3 separate regions of the Homo sapiens genome follow, and all the other regions are linked to region 1. Evidence: promoter capture Hi-C in human tissues and cell types (Jung and others, 2019). All regions are on one chromosome and are shown on one strand. The core of a region is centred on a gene start or on the middle of the fragment in contact, and the rest is flanking DNA. Distances in the headings are between cores, read along the strand shown. Region 1 holds the start of NBR1 (NBR1 autophagy cargo receptor). Region 2 overlaps IFI35 (interferon induced protein 35). Region 3 has its middle 10 kb from the start of RND2.

Region 1 (3,195 bases), core at 413-2,912:
CCAGCCTGGGCGACAGAGCAAGACTCCATCTCAAATAAATAAATAAATAATAATAAACCAGTCTTTAGAACCATAAACCTGTACTGTTTTCCACAATGTAATGCACTGCCCTGTAAAATACTACAATTAAGACTGTCATTTAAAGGCACTTTTTTGAAACCCTAAGACAATTATCCCCCAATTTTCTCCATTCTTTGTTTCTACCAAGAACCAAGTTCACCACCAAAATAATATTAGTCTCTTAACAACAATCCTGCTGACATCTAGTATTCATTCATATGAAATGTAATTATTGGGGTCCTTAAAATTTGAGAATCTTTGTCAATTCCCCAGGACCTTAGGCAAAAAATCAAGGAAATGAAGTGACTCAGTCCGCCAAAAGTGGGTATTCTGAAATATCACTTTCCAACTTCAAGAAACACACTTCCCTACTTGTGAAGGAAATGAATCTTCCTCTCTTTTTCTCAAATTACACAATTGGAAATTTAGATACTCTGGAGCTCCTCCAGCTGGTGGGCCAACTAAGAGAAAACAGGAAGTGGGAGATTCTAGCTTGGCTGGACCATATCCAGGTCTTCATAAGGAACTCTCTTTGGCTGACATGTAAAAAAATTCTTTCAGCAGGAGCATTAATCTTAAACGTGTGTAAACACCAAAGCTATGGTTAACCCTATCTGCCCCTTAGGTCTACAGCCAGTAGAGTCAGATAGCTGGGTCTTAGGCCTTCAGCTTTCATAACTGGCATTATTGTAAGTCCATGCCACTGACTCACCTTTGCTTGGCACAAGTTAGCTTTTCCTCCACGTCGATTTTTTTTTCAGCCTCAACAAAATCCCTTTAATGAAACAGACCTGGCAACCTGAGCTTTGATTACTGTCTCCACCAGAGGCCTTTACAAGCCAAGTTATCCAGGCTTTAAAATGTGTGACCTGAGGCCGGGAGCGGTGGCTTATACCTGTAATCCCAGCACTTTGGGAGGCCAAGGCACGAGGATCGCTTGAGCTCAGCAGTTCAAGCCCAGCCTGGGTTGGTCTTTGAGAAAGCAAGACTCTGTCTCAAAAAAGTGTGGCCTGAAAGCTGAGTGTTTGACAAAAAGGAAAAACAGTGCCTTTCCAAAACCGAAGGTCCCTAACCAAGGAGATCTCTTTAAGGTCTCGAAAAAACGAGGATGGGATGAGAAGGATGTGTAAGTAGTGTCATTTTTTTACTTGCAGAGTTCATCCTAGTCTTCCAGTTTTCGTTTCCTAGCACTCCATGTTCCCAAGACAGTGTCACTACCCCGAGGGCTCTCTCATTTTCTTTGCCTAGGCCCTCATTCCACTGGGGAGTCGTGGCCTTCCATCAGTAGAAGCCGGATGTTCTGACCCACAGACTCTCCAACTCTCCGGCGCTTCTCGCCAACTCGGTCCCTCTGAACATGAAGGGCTCTCTCATCCTGTCACTAAAAAGATTAGCTGTCCCGAAACACGGAAAAAGTCGCCCCTCTTCTTTGCAGGATTCCTCCCTTGAACTTCCCCAAACCCTCTTAGCGTGACGTGACCCCACCCCTAGGTAACCGCAGCTGCTTCCTTACCAGCTTCCCGCCCCCGGGGGGCGCCTGCCGGAGGCCAATGCAAGGACCGTCCGCTACCGGCTCTGCCGCTATCCCTGTGGGGTGAATCTAACATGGCGGATAAAGACAGTAACTAGTCCCCTGTTTCTCCGAGTGTTCGCCAAGATGATTGGCTCTCACCACTTGTCCCTCAAAACGACCACGCCATTGATTGGTGGAGATTGCGTCGATGGGGCGGGGCAGAAGCAACCTGAACCCGAACAACAATAACAAACATTGAGGCTGAGGGGCGGAACTAGGAGTGCGCAGATGTGGGCCAGAGCGGATTTCCCCTTCCCCAGGCAAATTCGGCGCCCACTGCGTCCCCGCAGGCCACTGACCTTAGAGGACTACTTGCCCGAGACTCGTGGGGCTGGATGGGAATCGTAGTCTTCCTAGGAGTTGTAGGTATCTTTTTTTGGCCTAGTCTCTGCTCTCAAGATAGGAGAACATAACAACACTCCAATCCATTACTGTTGACATGTATAAGCCCGCGGAGGTCTCCAATCTATCCACTGGATTTCCGTGAGAATTGTGCCCGCTTTGGTATTGGATGTTCCTCTCCATAAGACTACAGTTTCCAAGGAACAGTGTGGCCAAGGCCTTTCGTTCCGCAATGCATGTTGGAAATAGTAGTTCTTTCCCTCCACCTCCCAACAATCCTTTTATTTACCTAAACTGGAGACCTCCATTAGGGCGGAAAGAGTGGGGTAATGGGACCTCTTCTTAAGACTGCTTTGGACACTATCTTACGCTGATATTCAGGCCTCAGGTGGCGATTCTGACCTTGGTACAGCAATTACTGTGACGTAATAAGCCGCAACTGGAAGCGTAGAGGCGAGAGGGCGGGCGCTTTACGGCGAACTCAGGTAGAATTCTTCCTTTTCCGTCTCTTTCTTTTTATGTCACCAGGGGAGGACTGGGTGGCCAACCCAGAGCCCCGAGAGATGCTAGGCTCTTTCTGTCCCGCCCTTCCTCTGACTGTGTCTTGATTTCCTATTCTGAGAGGCTATTGCTCAGCGGTTTCCGTGGCAACAGTAAAGCGTGGGAATTACAGATAAATTAAAACTGTGGAACCCCTTTCCTCGGCTGCCGCCAAGGTGTTCGGTCCTTCCGAGGAAGCTAAGGCCGCGTTGGGGTGAGACCCTCACTTCATCCGGTGAGTAGCACCGCGTCCGGCAGCCCCAGCCCCACACTCGCCCGCGCTATGGCCTCCGTCTCCCAGCTTGCCTGCATCTACTCTGCCCTCATTCTGCAGGACTATGAGGTGACCTTTACGGAGGATAAGATCAATGCCCTTATTAAAGCAGCCAGTGTAAATATTGAAACTTTTTGGCCTGGCTTGTTTGCAAAGGTCCTGGCCAACGTCAACATTGGGAGCCACATCTGCAGTGTAGAGGGGGGGAAAAAAACGTGACTGCGCGTCGTGAGCTCGCTGAGACGTTCTGGACGGGGGACAGGCCGTGGGGTTTCTCAGATAACTGGGCCCCTGGGCTCAGGAGGCCTGCACCCTCTGCTCTGGGTTAAGGTAGAAGAGCCCCGGGAAAGGGACAGGGGCCCAAGGGATGCTCCGGGGGACGGGCGGGGGAAAGTGAATTTCCGAA
Region 2 (3,195 bases), core at 178-2,677, 160 kb after region 1:
ACTTTGCAGGGAGGGCTTGGGTAGGACTCATGAAGGCTGGGGTCCCAAGGGGCAGATTCCTGGGGAAGAGGAGGGCTGCCTGCATCACACTGGCTCTTGTTGGATGAGGGTTGGATAGCACTGGGAGCCGCATCTTTCCTTCCTCCCCAGGTGGCTGATGCCATGAAACAGATGCAGGAGAAGAAGAATGTGGGCAAGGTCCTCCTGGTTCCAGGGCCAGAGAAGGAGAACTAGGGCAAGTGGCTGTGAGACCCTAGAGACCAGCGAAGGGAGAAGTTGGGAAGCTACGTTCTGTTGGCCACCAGACTTGCATTTCAGCCTCTGTCATAATGCTCTGCCCTCCCTCCCCCGAAGGTCTCTGTGGTGATGACCGCTCTCCCCTGCCCCTCCCCGCTTCCTGACCTCTGAAGAGGTTGGGAAGTGACCATTTGGATGTCTGGGCCCTGCCAAGGCGACAGGGAGGGTCAGAGGGAGGCCGGCTGCTTCCTGCCCCCACCCTTTCCCCGGGCCTGCTGTGCTGCTTTTGTGCCAAGGTTAGCCAGTCCCCCCTGTTGTGTTCCATGTGCTTTCACCTCTGCCTCATCTTTCCTCCCGTCCCTGCCCCGCCACCTCCCCAAAGAATTGAAACGTCAGCTCAGGATATGGGGCCAATCTCTGTGAGTCCAGCATGTACCTGTCTCTCCCTAGTGTCCCTTCAGCCTGGGCTGACCAGTGCCCGCCTCTGGGCTTGACCAGTTCCCAATCTCGTCCTCTGTCCCCAACTTCTTAAGCACAATTGGGCTTCTTCCATCTCCAGGTTTTCTGCCATTCTTAACCAAGGCTGCCTCTTCCAACAGGGCGGGAATCAGACCTACTCCCCTAGGTCACAACTCTGGGAAGGATACAGAGCCCCCACCCTTCACTGAGTTCTCTGGATTTGTTCTCAGTGCCTTAGCAACGAAAACCTGTGCTTGTGTGTGTGTGGCGGCGGGGAGGGAGGATCCTGTTTCCCACCTCCTTCTCCTCCCCTGTACTCCCCAGTGCCTTCCTTGTTCTGGTGGAGCTGGGGTTTCTCTCCTCCCCAGTCCCACAACACTGCCAAAAATCTGTGTATGTGCCATTGGGTGGGGCAGCCCCAAGCCTCCTGGGGAGGCAGGGCAAAAACAGGTGCCCTCATCGTGGTCTGTGCCATGTCCCGTCTCTATGGTGGTTGAGGAGAAAGGCGGGGAAGCTTCCTCAGCCTTGCAGATATGTGTGGCATTTACTAGCCAGAGCTCTGAAAGGCAGTGCTGTCTGTTTCTTGTACTGGGACCAAAGTAAAAATCCAAGCACATTCCCCTTGCAGTTAGGGGAGGCCCTACTGCCTTCTCAAAGCAGAGAGGCAGCTTATCAAACTCAGCCCAAAACTCTGTTTACATGGGTGGGGAGATGGAGCAGGGAAGTACAGAGTGGGATGGTCAGGACCTGGGCCATTGCAACCAAAATGGGGACTTCCTGGGTAGGGAGGTCACTCCCTCTACTCACTGAGCTAGGATTAGGGAGGGTTATTGCCCCAACCATTGCAATGGGAGGTGGAGGGACAGGCTCAGCCTCCTCATTGTCTAAATGAGGCCTAAATGTGTGAAGTGCGATTTCTGCTTTTGTGTACCCCACCACCCCATTACCACAGCTGCCTTTGTGTGTTTGTGTCAATAAAAAGCCAAACCCTGGGTCCTGCTTGTTGCCTCTGAGAGTGGAGGGAAGGTGAGCTCCTGGAAGGCTAGTGCTGCCAGCAGAAGATCTGGGCTGCTTCCTGCCCCCTGCCTCTTTCCATGCCCAAATCACGTTTCCTTTCATGAGTGAAATGAGGAAGAACATCATGGCATGCAGGCTCTTTTTACTGTTCTGGGCAGTGTTTTGCAATGTGTGACCCCTCCGCACTGTTGGTGAACATACAGACCTCCTATATGGGCACCCAAGCCCAGGCCAGTGTGAGAACCTTGGCGGGGGGGTGGGGAGGATGAGAAGGGGAGGCCCCTAGCCTGACTCAGAGGTGAAGACTGCTAGGCCCTGCTGTCCTTGGGGTACGACTGTCAGGGCCTCTACCTCCCCGCCCCCGCGGGTGGGCTTCTGGAAGTGGATCTCCAGGACGTCATGCAGCTCCGGGCCATCCAAGATATCAGGAATGTTGAGCACCAGTACCGAGCGGGGAACTGGCTGCGACCTGATCTGGAAAAGGAGCCAGGAGATGGCAAAGGCTCATGGGAGAAGGGCTGGGGGCTGGGGGTAGGGCAGGCAGTGCCCCATGGGGGTATGAGGTCGGGAGGCCTGGAGAGGCTGATGGTGGGTAGGTAGGTCAGTGGGGTTTGGGGCCTCTGATCCTTCATTGGGCAAGTTCCTGGCAGGCAGACAGGTTACCCAGCCCAGCCCCTGTTCTTCACCCCTCCTGCTTACCTCAGCCTTCTGGATCTCCCCGTTCACATACGGAGAGACTCTCAGAGGGACTTGCTGCCCACCCAGTGGCACTGTGAACTGGCCGATTTGGCACAGACGCTGAGCCACTGTGGGGAGCAAGGAGGGGTGGGCCTTTAGCATCAAGCCCTCTCCTCTCCCTGCACCGTAATCTTGCACACCCTATACCCTCTCCCCTGCAGGAGGCCTGCATAGCCCTCACCTCCATCCCTAGCAAACCCCAGCATGACACTCCCTGGCAGTAGCTCCCGAACGTCCACATCGCCACCTCCGTTCCTAGTCTTGCCAAAGAAGATCTCTAGCTTGTCCAGCAGCTCCTCCTCACTCAGCCTGAGGCTGGCAGGAAATCCAGTGACCAACACCCTCCGGCCACTCAACTGGCTGGACATCTAGGGGGAGACAGCAAGGGGTGGTCCCAGACACAGCTCCACTTCCCCATGCCCAGGTGCATGGCATGCTTTGCATGCCCCAGGATTCTGTCATACCATCACCTGGATGGTGGTGACCATGGGCAGCTCCAAGGGCTGGACCTGCACCCGCAGCCGGCACTCCTCCATGTTGATCGTGTGCTCCTTTTGTTGCAGCACCTGCTCAGCCACTGGGTGGTGGGAAACAGGGTCAGTACTGGGAACCCTCCCCACCTCCCTCCTGAGGCTCCCCATGAGCTTACCTTTGGGGTCATCAAAGGTGATCAGAGCAGAGCCCGCAAGCAGAGGGCAGTGGATCCGCAAATTGGAAACTAAAGACTTAGGCACTTCCGGGTCC
Region 3 (3,195 bases), core at 356-2,855, 140 kb after region 1:
TGAATGCACTAAATGCCCCTGAATTGTACATTTTAAAATGGCTAATTGTATGTTATGTGAATTTCAATCGATTTTTAAAAAAAATAAAACTGAGCCACCTTTGGGGTGGGGAGAGGAGCTGGGCCAGGCTCTGAGGATTTGAGGGTTGAAACTCCTTGCAGGGAGTGAAATGAACGACAATGGGGAGGCCAGTCTGGGCCTCCCAACTCCTCCTCCAGGACCAGATGGGAACTGGGGCTAGGGAGAAAGGCCCAACTGGGGCGGCGCCGGGCTCTGGGCAGAAGAGAAGCACTCAGTGAATGTGAGGAGGCTGCAGCCGTCGGCTCATTTGCATCATAAGTGATTGGTTTTCCCTGCTCGTCCCTCATCAGGACACAATGGACAGTTGTTTGCTGGCGCAGCAGATCCATTTACCAAGGGAGAGAGGAGACAGAGCACAAGTGACCGATGGGTAATAGTGTTGAAGGGTGGGCAGCCGCCTCCCCTCCCCTGTGCTCCCAGGCCACTGGGACTCTTGTTCTCACACAATGAGAAGGGACCTTAGAGAGCAAATCACCGCTTCACTTTATAGAAGAAGAGACTGAGGTGCTGAGAGGAGGTGAGCCTTGCTGTGGTCAAACAGCAAGAACATAGCAAAACTAAGCATTTTAAACTCTAACCTCTGGATCCTTTTTCTTTGAGACAAGGTCTCGCTCTGTCACCCAGGCTGGAGTAGTACAGTGGCACAATCTCAGCTCACTGCAACCTCTACCTCCCAGGCTCAAGTGATCCCCCCACCTCAACTTTCTGTGGGCCACGACACCTGGCTAATTTTTTGTAGAGACAAGGTCTCACTGTGTTGCCCACATTTTTCTCGAACTCCTGGGCTCAAGTGATCCTCCAGCCTTGGCCTCCCAAAGTGCTAGGATTACAGGTGTGAGCCACAGCACTGGGCCTGTTTGGTTTTTGTTTTGTTTTGTTTTTTTGAGATAGGGTTCCACTCTGTCATCCAGGCTAGAGTGCAGTGGTATGATCACTGCTCACTACAGCCTCACACTCCTGGTTCAAGTGATCCTCCCACCTCAGCCTCCTGAGTAGCTAGGACTATAAGTATGTGCCACCACGCTTAGCTAATTTTTATTTCTTTTATTTTTTCTAGAAACAGTGTTTCCCTATGTTGCCCAGGCTGGTCTCACCTGGGTTCAAGTGATCCTCCCACCTCAGCCTCCTGAATAGCTGGGATTACAAGTGTGAGCCACTGCACCAGGCCTGGATTCTAAACTGTCATTTGAGGGTTCACTTCGTTTCCCCATAATACCTTCTCTGTGCCCTTATTCCCATCTCTGTGGTCTCCTGTTCCCGGGGCCTTCGTTTCCATCATTCTGTCTCCTGGGTCTATTTCTTTTTCTCTGTTTCTGTTCCTCTCTGTATCTTTTCCTCTTGGTTTCCAGGCAGCTAGGATAATTACTAGACTTTTAATTAACCCCTGCCCTAACAAAGGTGGGTCTGGCATGAGGCAGCAATTTAGCAAGTGTCTTGGTTTGTTTTGGGGATAGGTGGGGAGAGAAAAATATGTGTTGGGGCCTATTATAAACCAGGCACTAAGACAGACACATAATGCACTTTATCTCATTTCATCCTTTCAATCTTGCAAGGTAGGTGTTCTTAGAGACAAAAAGGGTGAGGCTCAGAGAGGTTAAGTAACTTGTGCAAGGGCACCCAGCTAGCAAATTGTAGTTACCTGACTCCAAAACCTCTGTTCTTCCATCTCACACCCTGGCACAGGGTCTAACTCAGGGTAAGGGGCTCATTGATTTCAGGCGCAAGGGAGGCACAAAGTCACTGAAGGAGACCACTGTTTTGTTGCTGTCCTCTAGGCAGCGACTGCGTCCCCCCAGAGCCCCCTCCTTCTCTGAGCCCCTTCTGCAGCGTGGCGAAATCTCACAAATGCAAGCTTTTGCCCCCAGGGAGGTGGGGAGGCAGTGATCAAGAAAGAAACCTGACAAACCCAGACCAACCATGGGGGTCTCCCTCCTGTTAACACCCCTCCCTAACAGCCCTCCTGGTGGTTCCCTGTCTGCCCCTCCCCTTTATGGGTCAAGCCTGCTGGCGTCTGTTTCATTGTGCTGTGGGGGAAGGGGAGAGTCAGGGGTGAGTGGGTGTCTGTGTGCATGAACATAAGGCCTCCGGGTTCATTCTGACACTGAATGAAAAACTCACCAATTATTCGTCCAGTCTCATTAATATGCAGACAGACATCTGTTATTTAGGAGTCAACAGCAGAGGCATTTTCTTGTCGGGAGGGGCACTAGTGTACAGGGCTCTCTTGTCTCTCCGCTGCTAGCGGGTAGCTACTCAGGAATCATCCCACACCTCCCGACCTGGAGCCTCCCCTCTCTCTGACCCTCACTCACAGCTTTGAGGACAGCAAGTAAGGGATTGACCAGACAGAGATGGAGGGAGATCTGGGAACCTGGCTGGAAGGAAGGAAGCAGGAGAGGAGCTGCCTTGTGTAGAACAAACTGAGAACAAAACGCTAAACCCTTTCCTGGGGAAGAGAATGTGGAGTTGGGGGAGAGAGCTGTGCCAAGAGTGCCTGCCCCACTGGGAATCTCAGGGACATGACCCCTCCCCCCACACCTTCCTCAGCCTGCAGGACAAGTCTGAGTGCATCTGAAGCAGGGAGAGGGTCACTATGGCAACATGAAGTCCTCACCCAGAGACTGCAGAAAACGTAATAAGAGGAGTTCAGAAAAATGGAGACCAAGGGACCTCAATCTTTTTTTTTTTTTTTCAATTTATTTATTTTTTTTTATTGATCATTCTTGGGTGTTTCTCGCAGAGGGGGATTTGGCAGGGAGGGACCTCAATCTTTGGAGGAGTCACTAAAGCTCTCTTCAGGCCCCAAGATAGGGGTGGGAACAAGACATAACCACCTCCTGCTTTCTGTCTTCTGTCTTCCTCCAGCCTTTAAGTCCCAGCACAAAATACCCCTCCAAGAAGCCTTTCCCAACTCCCTCAGGCCCAGCTTAGAAGCACTTAAGCCTTGGTGTCTTGGTTGTAAAGAATAAAAGTTGACATCAGCTGAGCAACACAATGAGGTAGATGTGGTGATCAGCCCCCTTTTCTAGGTGCAAAAACTGAGGTTCAGAGAGGTGCTGGGCCTCACCAAAGATTCCCCAGGGAAGAAGCAGCAGAGCTCAACCCAGGCCCTGG

Evidence for each region. Contacts are between HindIII fragments. The study calls those that stand out against the background at their distance.
Region 2: a fragment that was not itself captured here is called in contact with the fragment with the promoter of NBR1 in region 1 in 1 of the 25 tissues and cell types used here (lymphoblastoid cells).
Region 3: a contact is called between a fragment that was not itself captured here and the fragment with the promoter of NBR1 in region 1, in 2 of the 25 tissues and cell types used here (lymphoblastoid cells and pancreas).

Annotation. Positions count from the first base shown.
Region 1 is chr17:43,169,681-43,172,875 of GRCh38, reverse strand. NBR1 (NBR1 autophagy cargo receptor) reads right to left here and starts at 1,662. Exons shown (of 21, transcript NM_005899.5): 1 at 1,574-1,662. LOC101929767 (a long non-coding RNA gene) reads left to right here and starts at 2,473. Exons shown (of 2, transcript NR_110868.1): 1 at 2,473-2,750. It overlaps LOC124900391 (a long non-coding RNA gene), which reads left to right and starts at 1,912. Exons shown (of 2, transcript XR_007065760.1): 1 at 1,912-2,460. It also overlaps a transcript of BRCA1 not described here and the pseudogene BRCA1P1. RefSeq lists enhancers at 1,522-1,631, 1,952-2,061, 2,312-2,361, 2,632-2,841. The HindIII fragment of the contact is 14,047 bases long and covers 1-3,195 here.
Region 2 is chr17:43,013,100-43,016,294 of GRCh38, reverse strand. IFI35 (interferon induced protein 35) reads right to left here. Exons shown (of 7, transcript NM_001330230.2): 3 at 3,101-3,195; 4 at 2,922-3,028; 5 at 2,633-2,819; 6 at 2,413-2,519; 7 at 1,839-2,187. The coding sequence ends at 1,996. It overlaps VAT1 (vesicle amine transport 1), which reads left to right. Exons shown (of 6, transcript NM_006373.4): 6 at 151-1,688. The coding sequence ends at 234. Among named protein-coding and RNA genes, the nearest start is that of VAT1, 7.7 kb to the left of the region's middle. The HindIII fragment of the contact is 4,481 bases long and covers 1-3,195 here.
Region 3 is chr17:43,033,592-43,036,786 of GRCh38, reverse strand. No RefSeq gene overlaps it. Among named protein-coding and RNA genes, the nearest start is that of RND2, 10 kb to the right of the region's middle. RefSeq lists a silencer at 201-495. The HindIII fragment of the contact is 5,034 bases long and covers 1-3,195 here.